Regions from separate parts of the Homo sapiens genome. Here all the other regions are linked to region 3. Evidence: promoter capture Hi-C in human tissues and cell types (Jung and others, 2019). All regions are on one chromosome and are shown on one strand. The core of a region is centred on a gene start or on the middle of the fragment in contact, and the rest is flanking DNA. Distances in the headings are between cores, read along the strand shown.

What was found. The method cuts DNA at HindIII sites, captures the fragments that hold promoters and counts their contacts. A contact is called where the count stands out against the background at its distance.
Region 1: a contact is called between a fragment that was not itself captured here and the fragment with the promoter of AHRR in region 3, in 2 of the 25 tissues and cell types used here (lymphoblastoid cells and mesendoderm cells).
Region 2: a fragment that was not itself captured here is called in contact with the fragment with the promoter of AHRR in region 3 in 4 of the 25 tissues and cell types used here (IMR-90 fibroblasts, dorsolateral prefrontal cortex, lymphoblastoid cells and 1 more).
Region 4: the fragment with the promoter of CEP72 here is called in contact with the fragment with the promoter of AHRR in region 3 in 1 of the 25 tissues and cell types used here (lymphoblastoid cells).

Annotation. Positions count from the first base shown.
Region 1 is chr5:637,698-641,760 of GRCh38, reverse strand. CEP72 (centrosomal protein 72) reads right to left here. Exons shown (of 12, transcript NM_018140.4): 7 at 3,943-4,063; 8 at 2,537-2,672; 9 at 1,157-1,353. Among named protein-coding and RNA genes, the nearest start is that of CEP72, 27 kb to the right of the region's middle. The HindIII fragment of the contact is 9,549 bases long and covers 1-4,063 here.
Region 2 is chr5:656,028-660,332 of GRCh38, reverse strand. It overlaps TPPP (tubulin polymerization promoting protein), which reads left to right. Exons shown (of 4, transcript NM_007030.3): 4 at 1-471. It also overlaps a transcript of CEP72 not described here. Among named protein-coding and RNA genes, the nearest start is that of TPPP, 35 kb to the left of the region's middle. The HindIII fragment of the contact is 7,661 bases long and covers 1-4,305 here.
Region 3 is chr5:318,327-322,963 of GRCh38, reverse strand. It overlaps AHRR (aryl hydrocarbon receptor repressor), which reads right to left and starts at 1,250. Exons shown (of 11, transcript NM_001377236.1): 1 at 1,145-1,250. The region is part of intron 3 of PDCD6-AHRR (PDCD6-AHRR readthrough (NMD candidate)); the gene reads right to left. RefSeq lists enhancers at 239-358, 447-1,014, 4,148-4,447 and silencers at 599-658, 669-1,048, 1,139-1,628, 1,779-2,038. The HindIII fragment of the contact is 29,634 bases long and covers 1-4,637 here.
Region 4 is chr5:610,183-614,279 of GRCh38, reverse strand. CEP72 (centrosomal protein 72) reads right to left here and starts at 1,940. Exons shown (of 12, transcript NM_018140.4): 1 at 1,837-1,940. The coding sequence starts at 1,918. It overlaps CEP72-DT (CEP72 divergent transcript), which reads left to right and starts at 2,070. Exons shown (of 3, transcript NR_103444.1): 1 at 2,070-2,128; 2 at 2,527-2,833. RefSeq lists enhancers at 1,157-2,086, 2,087-3,017. The HindIII fragment of the contact is 15,731 bases long and covers 1-4,097 here.

The sequences.
Region 1 (4,063 bases), core at 258-2,757, 320 kb before region 3:
TGCACAGGCTTCTGGATGGGGGATGGGGGGCCATGTGTGTTTAAATGCAGAGACTTCTGGACGGGGGATGGGGACCCACGTGTGTTTAAATACAGAGGCTTCCAGATGGAGGAGGCCCACATGTGTTTAAATACAGAGGCTTCCAGATGAAGGCCACGTGCAGAGGCTTCCAGGCGGGGTGGGGGGGCCACGTGCGTTTAAACAGAGGCTGCCTGTGTTGTTTTGCTGTGTTTTTCTTCTCTAAAGAGGAAGCGTTGTGTGGGATCTCTGAGATGTTGGTTCCCATGAAACGGACAGTATGTACTTGTCAGACAAGTTCAGAGGCAGTTTTCGAAGCCGTCCCGGGCCGACTTCACTCGCAATTTAAAGATGCTGACAAGGCCCCTCTGGATGTGCACATCCTCACGTGGCTCTGCCCTCACACCAGGACTCCCGGAGGGCGGCTTCTGCCTGGGTGTGGCTCTCTGACCACCAGCTCCCTGTGCTAAGGATGCCAGCAGCCCGTGGGGAGGCCCTTGCAGCGTGGAGGGAGCCTGGGAGGATCCTGTCCCGTGAGGCCTCAGATGAGACGGTGGCCCCAGCCCACGGCTGAGACAGAGCCCCCATGAGGCCTCAGATGAGACGGCGGCCCCGGCCCACGGCTGAGACGGAAGGAGGGAGCCTGGCTGAGCTGAGCCTGAGGCCCAATACACAGAAATCCAAGGTGATAAATGCAGGTTTTCAGCTGCTGGTTTTGGGGTAACTTGCCCTGTAGCCCCAGCTCACCATGGGACACTGGCCGTCATCTCCTTCATAAAAGGAGAGTGGCCTCGGTTTTCCCCAGTTCGAGGCCCTGAGAGATGGGTCAGCAAGACAAAGTCACGTCCAGGCCTGGCTCCTGCAGCACCCGGCACTGCCCAGTGGTGGAGGGTCCCTTGGGCCCGGGGAGAGAAGGTGGCCAGCGCCACTGCTGTCTCCAAAGTGCTCCAGGCCTGTTGTGAGACAGGGCAGGCCGCGTTCCGGGGGTGGCCGGGTCCCGGGCAGGGAGTGGAGACATGGGGCTGCAGAGATGGCAGTTGGGACAGTGTGGCATCAAGGAGCTGCCCTCGTTCCTGGAAGTCAGAGCCATGTTTCCCCCAGTCACATGGACACAGACACAGCGCCAGGGCGGGCTCACCAGCTCCTTGTGTGTGTGGTGCAGCTCCGCCGTCACCTCGCTCATCTCCCGGGCGTGCTGCTGCTGCTGCTCAGCAAGGCGGCTTTGCAGGGACTTACTCTCCAGAGCCAGGGAGCCGACATCTTCACCCACCATCGCAGAGCTGTCCTGAGCTGCTGTGAATTCTTCAACAGATGACAAGATGTGTCTTGCCTGAGCTAGGAGTGAAAACCAAATATTACATTAGCACTTAGGCTTAAAGGATGAAATGTAAACAAAATCGGCTCAGTATGTTTTGAATCACACAGACGATGCCTCAAAAAGACGACAGGTAGGGAGAGGGGAAAGGGGTGTTGGCGCCACAAAACCACCTCAGGCTCTGTGCGTCCACACACGGGCAGGGTGGGAACTGAAGAAAGAGAAGAGGTGACCTCCAAGAAAAGGGGCAACCAGGGGCCGCCACGTCTCAAGGTTTCAGTGGCGCCGCCACAACTCGCTGCGCCTTCCACAAGCACCGACTGCCCTGTGTGGAAACCACCATGCAGACGACAGCTGGCAACTCCACACTGGGACAGTGGCCTGGGCCTGGGACAGTCCCCCCGCCACCGACGATGGCAAGCTCAGGAGGCTCCCACAGGACACCAGCCTAGGGAGAGGGGAGGTTTATGGGGCTGGGGTCCAGGTGGGCTGCGACTGCAGGGCGTCCTCATTCTAGGAGCTGAGGGGCTATAACACTGCAAGGCGCAGTCAGACAGCTCAGAGCCGTGCCCAGGGTCTGCGGGGAGAAGCACACTGGCTAGGCTCCTGAGGGACACACACAGCCACACCCCAGGATGCAGGACAAAGAGAAGGTGCCCCTGGGGACGCGGCATCTCCTGGTCTCCCAGTGTGATCCTGGATGAGGGAGGCCCCAGTGTGCTCATGTACGGGTTGCCTGGTAGAATCCAACAGACCCAAGTCCTCTCTGGGGAGGGACCACCCTCCTGGGTCCCACACCAACCAAAAGCTCTGCAATCCAGGCCCAGCACAGGCTACACGTCTGGGTCGGGGGAGAAGATGCTGAGCAGCTTCCAAACTCCAAATCCCCATGTGATCACAGCCATCAGAACCAAGCCCCTTTGGACAGCATTTTGAGCAAAATGAGGTGACAGGCCCCCCAACACCCCAGAGCACAGCGGGGGACCCACAGGCCCAGGCCCATGTGGTGTCTCCCGAGAGCCCTGGACACTGTGAGATGCAAAGACTGCCAGGGAGGGCCCAGGCGCGGGACCACCACACGCTCGTGGGAGGGGACATAGGAGACCTGGGGCTGAGATGACTCCTAGGTCACCACACGCAGAGGACCCCGGAACCCACACAGACGCTGCCTACAGGGCAAGAGCAGTGGCCGCCCTGACTCACCAAGGAATGCCTCGTTGCTGTGCAGGGACCTGCAGCCGCCCCAGCTCCTGTCCACCAGGTCCAAGAGCGTCTCCAGGAGCGCCGCCTGCAGGGCCGTCTTCTTCCCGGGTAGAGCCGAGTGTGACCCGGGAGACGGCTGTGATGGAAACAACAGCATGAGGCCAGCGAGTCAGTAACTGAGGTCCTGAATGCCAGCAGGTGCCCAAGCGCACCCTGGGATGCCCTCGCACCACGAAGGGGAGGACAGGTGCCCTGAGGCCCCAGCCCTGAGCCAGGTGGAGGGCGGCTCAGCAGTGCCTGCCCAGTGAGGCTTAGCCAGGTGCACCGGTCCTGGATGAGTGAGGTCTCGATGACAGGACAGGACGGGGCCCACACATTCCCAACTCAAGCAGGCCCCAGACTCCTCCCCTCAACCCAGACAGGGAAGCGGAAGACACATCCAGGCCGCAGTCAGAGCCTGTGTTCAAAAGGAGCTGCCCAGGAAGCAGCCTGCACCCACAGTCAGGCTGGTAGAGGGTGCCAGGCGCTGTCCCCAGCAATGGCCCGGAGTCAAACAATAACCCTGAAACAGACCGCCCACCTCCCCCATCTCTGCCTCCTTCCAGCTCAGGACCTGCCGGGGACGTCAAACACGCCCCACCCAGCTCTGGGACCCCCCCCCACCCCATGCTGCTACGGAGCTGCCTCTAGCTCCGGCCATGCCTCCCTTCCTGTCCCACAGTTCCGCACCTTCAAGCTCCTCTGCCTGCATGGGAGTCTGAAGCCCTCGTTGTGGCAAGTACCAAGTGAACAGCCCCTGCCTGTTCCCTTCTGGGTGGTCTGCACTCATGTCTACAGCAGGTGTGTCTCAACGCCTCTGACTGGGCCTGCGCCAGTTGTCCCCCTGACCTCTAGGTCACCCTGAGGGTGGAGTGACTCGGTCTCTCATCACAGCGACCTCCAGGATCCTCCCCTCACGAAAGGGTCATCAATGGCTCAGCCGGCCAAGATGCCCGATTCCAGCTTTGGAGACAAATGCCCTGTGCACCGTAAGGCAGAGTCCCCTCTCTCCACCACGGGGCTTCCACTCAGAACAGCAGCGCAGGACAGCGTGTGGCACAGAGGCACACGTCCAACAAAACGCAGCAGCAAGCACCCTGGAACCCTAAGTGTGATGATTCCCTTTATCCTGGGACACGGTCAGTGCCGTAGGCGTAATCACGGCACCGCCAAAGCCGTAACAGCCCCGCATCAGGGAGGGACACGGTCAGTGCCGTAGGCGTAATCACGGCACCGCCGTAACAGCCCTGCATCAGGGAGGGACACAGTCAGTGCCGCAGGCGTAATCACGGCCCCGCCAAAGCCGTAACAGCCCCACATTAGGGAGGCAGTGCCGTGGGCCTGCTGCTCCCCAGCCCTTCTCTCACCTCTCTGGTGTCGGTCACACCCCGAGACCTCTGCTCCTCAGTCTCCGAGGCCTCAGGCTGAGACAAGGTCCTCCCGTTCCTGCTTTCTGAGCTGTCCTGTCTGCTCAGGCTCTCCTTGGGC
Region 2 (4,305 bases), core at 1,306-3,805, 340 kb before region 3:
AAGCCAAACCACAAAGGAAATCTGCACAACTTAAGAGAAACTTGAAAGGGATCGTGTAACTACTAGTTTGTACTAAGTTTTTTTCAAGAAAGGGAAACAAATTTATATATATATATATATATATATATGTGCAATATATTTTTACACTGTGTGATTAACATTAGGGAGTACTGAGTGCATCACTTTATCAGTGTGACGGGTGATGTCCACGTCATGGCTGTTCTGACTCTGAAAGCCACTTCTGCTGATGTCTAAACCGCACTCACCGCGGACGTCCGCGGGGTGGGGTGGCCCTGCTGTTCCTCCTGCAGGTGAGAGGTGTGGTGTTGCCTGTTGGACTTGCTGTTGAGCCTGGCTTGCAAACCTGTAGTGAAACAGCTCGTGTCTGTGTGCACACTGCTCCTGTGTCTGCTGTCGTTAACATTGTGTGTCAAGTTGGTAAAGTGACAAATAAAGGTGTTAAAACATGGATTTCTCTGTTCCTCAGAGCACACGTGTCTGTAACAGGTGATAACAGGGGATAGGTACTGGAGGGGCCCCAGGTGGGGAGTGTGCTGAGTGCCTCCACTGGGCTGAAGCTCACAGGGCCAAGGCCCTTGTGTCGCCTTTTCCCGAGGGAGTCTCTCGCTTCCTCATCTAGACAGGAGGACCGTGAAGGAGGAGCAGGCGGACCAGCCATCTGTCAGGTGTGAGTCCTGCTCTAGCACTGGTGTAGCCCTGGGTGGGGTCTAGATTCAAGGGGAATGGACATGAACACTGTGAACACCACCAGAGCCCCCAAAACAGGACAATGTCATCACAGGCTGCTATAAAAAAAATGCCAACCTGAGATACTAGCCCAGCGAAACAGTTTTCCAAAATGAGGATACAATAAAGGCATTTTTGGACAATGAAAAGAGAATTTGCCACCAGCAGACATTTAAAGAAATTCTAAATGCAGAAAGCAAAGGTGATCTCAAATGGCATGTCTGGTTTGTGAAGAAAGTGGAGCAAAGAGAATAAATAGGTCAATAACTCCAAATTAACAGTGGCTATATCAATACTTTGTGAGATTAAAATGTTTCATAAAAATACTTGGGAACCCCCACAGGTGAGCAGAACAGGAGCATGGAGAGGGACGCGCGCCTCGCGCTCCAGGAACCAACCCCAGAGGTGGGTGAGAGCATGGACTAAACGCACACATGCCATAAGCATGGGACAGAAGCAGAGTACAGTCTCCAAACGAGCAGAGGGACATGCGGGATGACAGGAGATCATCCAAAAGTGGCAAAAGTGAAGAGGGAAAAAACCATGAATAGAACAAACAGCACAAAATGAGATGGCAGATTTAAACTAATGAGATGGTGGATCAATCAGCTTCGCTGAGGCCGGGCGCGGTGGCTCACACCTGTAGTCCCAGCACTTTGGGAGGCCGAGGCGGGCAGATCACAAGGTCAGGAGATTGAGACCATCCTGGCTAACACAGTGAAACCCTGTCTCTGCTAAAAATACAAAAAATTAGCCAGGCGTGGTGGCGGGCGCCTGTAGTCCCAGCTACTCGGGAGGCTGAGGCAGGAGAATGGCGTGAACCCGGGAGGCGGAGCTTGCAGTGAGCCGAGATCACGCCACTGCACTCCAGCCTGGGCAATAGAGCGAGACTCCATCTCAAAAAAAAAAAAAAAAAAAAAAAAAAAAAAAAAAAAAAAAATCAGCTTTGCTGATAAAACAAGAGAAAGAAACACAGAACAGGGAAATTGATAAAATAATATTTTAACCCATATTTATTTGTAATTTCAGCATGGCTAATGATAGATCAGATCAGAAATTGAAAAGAAAATGGAGGCAAAGGGTGTTTCTTTGAAAGGACTGAAGAGAAAGTTCAAATAACGAATATGAAGAATGGCCAAGAATGGGCTGAGTCCCCGGGAGGCAGATGCTGAGGTGGCCTTTGTATCACAAGAGGCTCACTGGTGAGGAATGCCCCTGAACAGCAGCAAGGGGAGGAGGCCGGGAGGCCTCAGGGAGGCTCTGGAGATGACCTGCTAGGGAGCTCCCTGTGGTTCGCATTAGGCCCAGGCCCTGCCTGCTTGGACACTGGCTGCAGCTGCCTGGATGAGTGTGTCCTCAGCTCCAGAGCCCAGGCACAGCCTGACAGCATGGTGGCTGGAGATGGTCTCTACCCCTGTACTCCCTGCCCCTGGATGGCAAGGTCTCGCTTGAAGGGACACAACTGTCCCTACATCTCTGCCACAGGGACACACACAACTTCAAATGTTGAAGCCATTCAAATTATGTGTGTTATACCCCCCAAAATGGAAAATTAAGACAATATGGACCAATTCTTAGAGACACATAACTTACAAAAACTAACTCGAAAAGAAATGGAAAGCCTGCTCAGCCCTGTGACTTAGGGGAAGTCACTGCCAGCTACAAAAGAAAACCCCTAACACTTCAGTGGCTGGACACACAAAATGTATTACTCACACAACGTCCAACTTCAGGAATAACAAGAGATCTCTTCTAACAGAAGACAAACAGACTTCCTAATCCTGTGATGCAGCTGCCCAGGTCACTGGCAGGGAAGCTATCACAGTGACGCACCAGCTCCCGCTGCTCTGGCCCTGAAATGACTCACCTCAGTCCCACACACAGGCTGTTGCTCAGTAGTCACACGGCCCCAGCCCAACTCAGGGATATGCAGCGTAAAGGCAGGGGGGACATAAGGATGGTCTGTGTGAACGGTTCTGCCACATCCTGGAACACTGAGTTATACTGGATCAGTAGTCAAACCTCCTGACAAAGAAAGTTCCAGGCACAAGTGACTTCACCAGCAAGTTCCATCAAACATCCATGGAAGAAATAATTATAATCTTAAGTAAATTCTCCTAGAGAATGGAGAAAGAATACACAACCTAGCTCATTTTACGGTGGTGTAAAGATGCGAATCCTTTCAAGAACAGCATTACAAAGGAAAATCGTAAGTGGCTGTCACCCGTGAAGAGAGATACTAACCACTGTACTAGAGCACGCAGCTACCCAGTGCTCAGGACGCACCAGATGCTGCCCGAGAGTCTTATTCATACTAACTCATTTCACCTTCACAACAATCCTGTGAGGAAGCCACTATTTCCCCATTGTACAGACGAGGAAATCAGGGCCCAAACACAGGTGCTAGGTAGTATAGCTGGGCCACAAAATGCTAAACAAAATATTAACAAACCAAATATAACAATATGTATGTAAAAGAAAATCCATAATTATTAAGTTGGACTTATCTCAGAAATTCAAGGTTTATTTTTAACAAAAGCAAATTATGGTCGTTAAACACATCAATATATTAAATGATAAAAATCATGGTCATCTCCATCACTGCAGAAAAAGTGATAAAAGTCATCCATTCTTGAGGCGAATTATTGATAGAAGAAGCTTTAAAACAAGCAAAAAAAATCCATTACAAGTGAGTGGATAAATGGTGAGAATTTATCACCCCTTTGAATATCAGGAAGAAGACAACGATGCCCACTCTGTTACCACCTCTAATCAGCACTGCACTAGGGGTTCCGACCAGTGTAGAAAAGCAAAAAACAAAACAAAAATAAAAACATAAAGTAAAAATCCAGAACAACAGGAATGGGAAAGAAAACCCATTACTCATAGAAAACATGACTGTGTGCCTAAAAATGAGGAAACAGCTACAGGCAAATGATTAAAATTACTAGACTGCCGGATACAAATTAATACACAAAAATGAATTTCCATGAAATGGCAACACATAATTAGGAAAATGAAATCCAAGCACATTTTTAAAAACAGCATCGCAAAATAACAAGGACCTAGGATTAAATGTAACAAAAGACATACAAGACCACTGTGAAAAGTATCAGGCTGTATGAACACCCGCTGAAGGAGCCCTAACATTTGGAGAGACAGATACCATGTTCAGAGCTTGTAAAACCCAGTACTGCAAGTACGTCAATGATTCCCAAGTTGATCTACAGGTTCAACACAATCCCAAACAAAATCCCAACTCGACCGGCTAGTTCTAAAATGTATGAAACACAAAGGGTCAAAAACAGCCAAGACATCCTAACATAAGATGGAGGTACGCGCCCCAGAGTGTGTGGTATTGGCAGAGACAGACAAGGAGATGCAGAAACGGACACAGAGATCATCCTGACAAAGGAATCTTCAGCAGCCGGGACTGGGAAAACTGGGCTTATGTCTGCAACACAATGAAACTGGATCCTTAAGCTTCACAACAGGCGCAAAAATCAATTCTGGGTAGAATCTATATCTAAAATCCAAAATATACAAAACTATAAAATC
Region 3 (4,637 bases), core at 1-2,500:
CTAAGAACCTTTCTCCCGTGGTAAAACTCGTGTCTGTTCATTTTAGAGAATACAGATAAGTAAGAAAACGAAAATAAAAGCCGTTCCCCAGGCGGTGGCGTCCCCCCCGTCGAAGCGGCTCCCCAGGCGGCGGCGTCCGCCGGGTCAGCATCCTACGTTCTCCAGTTCTTGTTACTCGTGGCTTTTCAGCGACTCTGGGGCCGCATCGAGCCCCGGCTTTGTGCGGGATGGGTATGGCACACTCGGCCCGAGTCCAAACGCCGCCAGTCACTTGCTCTGAGAGGCTGGATGAGCGACCTACCTTGATGTCCTCGTTCGTAAAATGGGTGACGGTTGCCAGGCCGGGGCGGCTGTGAGGCCCCGTGGGGGTGGCGTTTGGAGAACGCGCGCACACGCCCACCCTTCTGCAAGAACCCCGCAGACGAGAGCCTGTGCGCGCGCACAGGAGGCCCAGGGAGGAAGCCCCTCCCCGCCTGCCCTTGCCATCCCGGAGGCCACAGCCGGACAGGCCCGTGGGACAGGCCCGTGGGACGCTTCTGCACAAGGTCTCTGACCTCCGGCCTCGCAGAAGAGGTCAGAGGGTGGCCCCTGCCTGTCACGCGCCCATGGCGACCCCTCCCCAGAAGGGGTCCCAGCGTGGACTCCAGGCGCCACATCGCTCTCTCAGGGCATCCGGTCTGGGAATTCTGGCCGCTCAAAATAAGACTTCAGCGCTACTGGGTGCTACTGAAACCAAGCCTGAACATGGGCCTTTCCCGGGGGTGAGGCCCCCCGGACCTGGCGCCCTCGGCCCGACAGCGGGGCCCCGCTCCGCCGCCCGCACCCGCCCAGCCCCAGGGAGCGCGGCCCGCACGGAACGCCCGGGGAGTGAAGGCTCAGAACACTCTCGAGGGGACGCTGAGGACCACGAACCGTGGACGCGCCGCGGCTTCCCTCCGAGGTCCGAGTTTTAAGTGAGACCAGCCAGCCGCACCCCAGAGTGTCCGCCCCGTCCCGGGGCCGCCGGGCCTGGCGACGCGAGGATGCGGCGTGAGGAGGGTCCCGACGCCGGCGCCCGTCCCTCAGCCCCACACCCGGGAGCGCATCCCGTCTCCACCGCGGGCGGCACGCGGCGGGGGCCTGCGGGGGCGCCCAGGACACTTACCCAGGGCCTGCGGGGCGCGGAGGCTCAGGCACACCCGCGGGGCAGCGCGCCCTGGCCAGGAGCTGTGGCGGCGGGTGCCGGCGCTCGCATCCCGGGAACCCGCGGCGGCTCCAGGGACTGCCCCACCCCGGCACGCGAGCCGCCCGCCCCGCCCCGCAGCATCCAGGGCCGGGAGGCGGCAGAGGGCGCCCGCGGGTCCGGCTGTCTCGGGTCCGGCTGCCCCAGCTGCCCTGGCGAACCGGAGACGCCATCCGGTTCCCCTGGGGTCCGCCCTGCGCCCTTCGCGTCCCAGTGATCCCCCGGAGTCTCCGTGCCCCGAGGCGGGGGTCGCGCGCTGAGCCCCTCCAGGCCCTGCGTTCCCCCTGGGGTCTGTGTGCGCCCAGGGTCCCCCGGTTCTCCCTGCGCCCCCGTCCCCTCCCCAGCGCTCGCGGCCGGCTGTGCTGAGCTGCCGGCCCTAGAGCCGGGCGGTGTAGACCCGAACAGGTAAAGTGAGGAGAGCGTGTGCCCCCTCGCCTGCCCCATGAGGTCGTTTCGAAAATGTAAAAGGAGTCATGGTTTTTGGCGAATTATAGAGAATATTAAGATGCTTTTGGATCCTGAGCTTCCCAGGAAGCGGACGCGCGCCAGGCACGGCAGGGTCGTCCGTGCGACGTTCTTCGTCCTGGGCATTTCAGGGTCCCACGCGGCAGGTGTGCGGCCCTGGGTGCCCCTGCCCCGCCCACCCCGCCGGTCGGCACCCGGGACCGCGCGGCCGAGAGCAGGGTCCTGCCTGCAGGTCCTTAGGGCTCACCCCGCGCCCTCTGCGCGCCCGCCGGCCCCTCCGACCTCGGGCTGCGCCTTCTCCTTCCCCCTCCCGGTGGTCCTTGGCCCCCTCTAGTCCTCCGTCCGGGCGCGCAGGCCCTGGCTGAATTCCCTGTACCCTCAGGGGATCCCTGGGGACACCTCAGCCTGGCCTCGCACCCTGACGTCTCCACAGACCCTGGCCGGCTTCCACCCGTTCTCGCCCTCGCTGGGGCCGGCCATGGAGTCGGTGGTCCCTGGAGTCCGCTCCTCAGCATCCGCGGTCCTCATCCCAGCCGGGGGAACCGCGCCCTCTTCATCCCGCAAGGTCGGTTTTCAGCAACGCGGCCGAGGCTGTCACTGGCGCCCCCAGGTTCTCAGTCAAACCCCGTCTCCCTGACGCCCCCAACCCGCCCCGCGCCTCCTGCTGTTCTCTGAATAAGGCGTGCGGGCCTTGGGGCCTTTGCACTCGCTGTCTGCTGTCGGCTCAGGAAAAGTCTCTTTTCCAGACACAGCTCCCAAGGTGGGGTGGGCGCAGCTGAGAAGCCCACCCTGCCCCCAAGTGGCCACCGCCCCTCCCCGGGTGTAGCTCCTGCAGGGCAGCCCAGAATTGCTGAGTTCTGCCGCTCTGTCCCCAGGGGTCACCAAGTCGGCTCTGCTCACCTCTGGTTCCTGTCGAATAGCAGAGGCTCAAAAATGTGAGCTGAGTAAATGGGCTTTTTTGGGACAGAGTCTTGCTTTGTCACCCAGGCCTGAGAGCAGTGGTGCGATCTCAGTTCACTGCAGCCTCTGCCTCCAGGGCTCAAGCGATTCTCGTGCCTCAGCCTCCCAAGTAGCTGGGATTACAGTCGCGCGCCACCACACCTGGCTAATTTTTTTTTTTTTTTAAGTAGATAGTGGTTTTGCCATCTTGGCCAGGCTGGTCTCGAACTCCTGACCTCAGGTGATCCACCCACCTCGGCTTGCCAAAGTGTTGGGATTACAGGCATGAGCCACTATGCCACTGAGACAGCCAGGAGCCCTGGGTGCACACATTTATTTTTTGATATGGAACAATGTGCAACTATATTGCTGTATTTTTAAAAATCATTAGTTTTATCTTGATCCAATTTTTGTAAAGTGAATTATGCACAGAAAATGTGTAGCTGGATAACTCTGAGGTAACAGGTGAACTTTAATTTCTTTTTACTTTTTGAAAAGTCTACAATTCCTGTAAATTTTTGCAAGAAGCACATAGTACCTTTGTGATCTGTTAAAATAAGAACCTGTGGGTAGAATGTGATGGTGGTGAGCCGCAGTCCCCCTGCATGGGAAGACAGCACCCCCATGTCTCAGGGCAAGCACGGGTTCCCTTCCACCTACCCTGTCCCACCAGAACCAACTGGAATGAGACACTTTGTTACTCTATTTCCTGGGTACAGAAGGAAACTGCTCCTCCTTCCTTCCCACTGCCCTTGACCGGCACAGGCCATCCACGCCCACCTGTCCCCTGTGCTTGTCCCCAAAGTCTCAGGTCTCTGCAGGACCTGGGGCAGCCAGTGGGACTGTGCAGAAAAAGGATGACCCTGCCGTGGGAGCCACTGCCCCTAAAGTCTCAGGGTTTAGCAGGCAGAGCCCCACGTGGAGTCCTGGAGTCTCTGGGCACCCCACCAGCACAATGGGGGATCCCTGAGCCACCTCCCGTTCAGACGGGCTATTGGGCGTGCCTCCCTCCCCACCACGAAGGTCCAGATGCAGCTGACACCCCCAGTCACAGAGTCTCCTTTCTGCCTCTGTGCTGGGGACCCTGTTCAGGAGGTCTCCTCCCTCCAGTCCGGACTTGCTGTCCCCAGTGTCATTGAACCCTCTGGCTCCCACCCACACTCCCAGCAGCTGGAGACACACCCCTTTCTCCTGGGCCACTGGTCCTCTCGGGACTCTGAACCAGAGGCGCTAACACCTGGCAGGGATGGCAGCTGGGGCAGGACTGGAAGCCTCCGAGGACCCACCCCCAGCTCCGGGTACCCCCACACTGGAGTCTGGTGCGGTGGGTCCCCAGAGCCATATGAGCTGGACTTGGCCTCCAGTGGACCGCCACATGGCAGGTGCCCACGGCCGGCTGCAGCGCCAGGCCCCTCCCAAACAGGCCCAAGTTGGCTTCACAGAAGTGTGGGGGCAAAGCTGCTCTTCATGGGCCTCCAGGAGTGGTGACTGTGACTGCCCCCTCCTGTCCTCTCCTGGCCACACCTTTGCCTCCCACAGGCAGGCCAGGTCAGGAGCCCCCAGGGCCCTGACCTCAGAGGCAGACAGGGGTGTGCTGACCCCTCGGGCCAGGCCAGGACCCCGCACAGGCGCCTGCGGCTCTCTGGCTCTCTGATGGCGGCTGGGTTTCCCGGGTTCCCCGGGTTCCCCATGACTGCTGTGTCTCCAGCGTTGATGCCTCACAGGGAGCCGCTTGGGCAGCCCTGGTCACGCCTGGGTTCCCTCTCTCTCCCACACCAGTTTCTCCCTGGTCACGCCTGGGTTCCCTCTCCCACACCAGTTTCTCCTGTAGCACAGAGAAGGACCTGGGGAATTTTGTCTTTTGTTAAAAACCACAAGGGAGCTCCCTGCTGGGCACAGTCACGGTGGCGCCCGTCAGAGCTGCTTCCAGGGTGCATTCCATCATTCCAAGTTCACTGTGCTGGAGTCAGCTCTCTGCTTGCCGCAGGGTGAGGGGGGGAGGTGGAGGGTG
Region 4 (4,097 bases), core at 691-3,190, 290 kb before region 3:
ATCTACAGTTTTGCCTCAAGGATTTAGAAAAGTATAAAATAAATGCAAAGCAAGCAGAAAGAAGGAAATAAAAAAAAGCAGAAATCAATGAAATTTGAAACTAGAAAAACACTGGAGAAAAATCAAACCCAAAGTCGGTTCTTTGAAACTATCAATAACATTCACAAGCCTCTAGCAAGACTAAAAAAGAAAGAATACACAGATTATCAACATCAGGAACAGAAAAGGGATATCCCTGTAAACCTTGTAGCACTAATCAGGGAAGAAGGGAGGACTCGGCATGTCCCGAGGTCAGCTGCCCTCTCACCTGCTTCCTCAGAGCCCTGTGGTGCCTACTGCCTCAGGATCACTTGGATTTTGTCACGAGGTTACAGTTCCCCTTAACCACTCTACAGATAATAACCTGGACATTATAAACCGTTAAGTTTTCCATTTGAGATATTCTTTCAGGACCTGGGGACTGATGCCAGCTGGTCTAAAGGGCCCCGCAAGCGGATTCACCAAAGAATGCAGTTTCCACACCCTGATAATTCCATGGCCCTTACCTCCACCAACTGACAACACCAATCTTCCAGCTCCTCACAGTCCTGTTCCTCTAAAACCCCCAGCTCAGGCTGGGTGTAGGTGGCTCATGCCTGTAATCCCAGCACTTTGGGAGGCCAAGGCAGGTGGATCACCTGAGATCAGGAGTTCAAGACCAGCCTGGCCAACATGGTGAAACCCCGTCTCTACTAAAAATATAAAAAATTAGCCGGGCATGGTGGCGCGTGCTTGTAATCCCAGCTACTCAGGAGGCTGAGTGAATCACTTGAACCTGGGAGGTGGAGGTTGCAGTGAGCTGAGATTGTGCCACTGCACTCCAACCTGGACGACAGAGTGAGACTCCGTCTAAAAAAAAAAAACCGCTCAGATCTCCTTGGGGAGATGGATTGAGGCCTCCTTCCACCTCCCTGCTGGGCCCCTGCCAGCCTTAAACTCTTTCTCTGCTGCAAACCCCACTGTCTCAGTGTATTGGCCTGTGGCCCCCACAGCACCTGACTGAACCTGTTGGTCCAGTAACACCTGCAGACCACACACAGACATTAACAGGCTAACAACAGAACACCAGAAACAACTCAACACACACACTCCACAAGTTAGCTCAAATAAGCCAATGCCACAAAACCCCACACAGCCAAGACTCGCGGTGAACTAATATGAACGGTTCTCTAACAACCAGAGATACAGAATTTGTCATTTAAAAGCTTCAAAAACAGAAATTGACATGTCCATATGGTTTCACTGGAAAATTCCAGGAAACATTCAAACAATGAGCACACACTCTACAGAACCTCTTCTAAATATAAGAGAAGGCAACACTTCTCAGCAGTTTATGAGCTCGGCTTCACCTTGACGCCAAAACCAGACAAAAATAAGCCAAAAAGAAGGAAACCGGCCACCAACATCCTCAAGAAGGCCGAGCGCAACAATCACCACAGAGTGGGCCCAGGAGAACCAGGGAGGTGATCCCCAGCGGGAGGGCGGGCTGCGCTCCTGGACAGCAAGGCCGGCTCCCTCTTCTCAGCGGATGTAACCCCCAGTCACGGAACCAGTGACCCGATAGACAGGCAGGGGCCGGGACGCCGGGACCCGAACGCGGGCAGGGGCCGCACCTGGGCACGGGGGGTGGGTCGCTCACCTGGACACGCGCGCCCCGCTCGCCCGCGACCGTTCCGGACGCCCGCGGCGCCTGCGTAGACGGGTCCCGCCTGCCCACGGTCCGCCGCCGCCCCGGGAAGCTCGGCACCCACCCCCCCGCCACCTCACGCTTGCACCCCCGCCCGCCCTCCGGCGCACCCAGGTCGCGGTGAGGCCCTAAGCCGCTCTTCGCCCGAACCGCCTCCTCGCTCAGCACCAGCCGAGGGCCAGCCCGCGCCATGTTTCAAACGGAGCCCTCGGACGGCGCCTGCGCGGCGGGCGGGGCGAGGCTACGAGAGGGGCGGGACCTGCGTCGGCAGAACCGAGAGCCTGGCGGGACGGGGCGGGGCCTGCGCGGCGGGGCGAGGGGCGTGGCTGGGGGAGGGGGCGGGACTGCGTGGGCGGAACCAAGAGCCTGGCGGGGGGTTCTCCTGAATGGCGGTTCTCCCAGGTACTGGCCACGCGACCCCAGCCCCCGCCCCAGATAGCTCCCTGTCAAGGCTTCCCTGGGCGCGGCCGCCTTCTAGGCCCCGGCCCTTGACACACGCGGTGTCCTCCCGGGGAAACCCCGAGTAGGCGCGGTGGAATCGCGGCTGGTGGTGGGCATGGGGACCCTGCCCCATCCACACTCCGCTCCCACCCTGAACCCAGCGCCCCCGGGGACCCCCGACTCACCTAGACTCCCCACCCAACCCGACCCCCCCGCGGGGACCCCTCCAGACACCCCAGCACCCGCCCGGAGCCTTGTCTGCTGCACCTCCCGTCCAGCCCCGGGCCTCCCAGAGGTGGGCGGGAGCTGAGCTTCTCCCCAGCCAGTCACTCCCCACGGCCGGTCCTTCTCCACCCCAGAACCTCCAGAGATGTCACAGGCCCAGCACTGTGGCTCGTGGCTGACCGCGCCCTGGAGGGTCTCGCTGTGTTTATCCTTGTGAGGTCCTTCTACAGAGCTTTCAAGGAAGACAGAGTTCAGCCTGTTTATTGGGAAGACTTTAATCCTGCTCAAGACATCTACTGTGTCACCGTACCACTGTGGCCCAGCGCCTGGTGGAGTGAATCCAGACCCCCAGGGGTGTCCCCTCCCCGCCTTTCTCCTGGTGTCTAGGGGCACCCAGAAACCCTCACCCCAGATTAGACCAGCTCGTTGGCAACATCCCTGGTATGTCACAGCCTGGGGGGTGATAGACAAGGCAGGGTAGTGGTGGGGGGTACGTATGGTGGTAGTAGACGAGGGTATACACAGACAGAGGGTGTACATGGGGAATGTGTGCAGGGGCTGTGTGCAGGGAGTGTGTGTGGATGGTGTAGGGGAGTGTGTAGGGGAGTGTGTAGGGGGTGTGTGCAGAGGTTGTACACGGGGTGTGCAGGAGGTGTACTCAGAATGTGTTCAGGGAGTGTGTGCAGAAGGTGTACATGGGGTGTATGCAGGAGGAGTGTGCAGAGGGTGTACATGTAGGGGGTGTGTGCAGACAGTATACAGAAGGGGTGTGTGCAGAGGATGCACACAGGGTCTCTGCAGGGAGTATGTGCAGTGCTGTACATAAGGAGTATGCAGGGGGTATATACAGGGTGTATGTGCAAGGGGTGTGTGCAACAGTGTGTGCAGGAGGTGTGTGCAGGGTCTATGTGTGGGGGTGTGTGCAACAGTGTGTGCAGGAGGTGTGTGCAGGAGGTGTGTGCAGGAGCTATGTGTGGGGGTGTGTGCAACAGTATGTGCAGAGGTGTGTGTAGGGGCTATGTGTGGGGGTGTGTGCAACAGTGTGTGCAGGAGGTGTGTGCAGGAGGTGTGTGCAACAGTGTGCAGGGGGTGTACACAAGGTGTGTGCAGGAGGTGTGTGTAGATGTGTGTGCAGGAGGTATACACAGGGTTTGTGCAGAGGATGTGTGTGGGAGGTGTGTGCAGGGGATCTGTGCAGGGAGTGTACACAGGCTGTGTGCAGAGGCTATGTGCAGGGGGTGTGTGCAACAGTGTGCAGGGAGTGTACACAAGGTGTGTGCAGGAGGTGTGTGCAGAGGTGTGTGCAGGAGGTATACATGGTGTGTGAAGGTATGTGTAGAGGTGTGTGCAGGGGGTATACACAGGGTTTGTGCAGAGGATGTGTGAGGGAGTTGTGTGCAGGGGATCTGTGCAGGGAGTGTACACAGGCTGTGTGCAGGGGGTATGTGCAACAGTGTGCAGGGGGGGTGTGTGCAGAGGTGTGTGCAGGGGGTGTACACAGAGGGTGGTGGCAGGCGGTGGATGCAAGGCTGCATCTGTTCAGCCCAAGACGTTCCATTGGTCCAGTGGTGTTAGAGCACATTTGGTCAGGTTGCCTTCATGGGATATTTGACAAGCTGCAAACCCGAGGGCATGCTGGTGCCCGAGGGCGCCTCCGTGCTGACCTCAGCATGTGCAGCAAGAGCCAGGGCACAGGGGCGGCCTG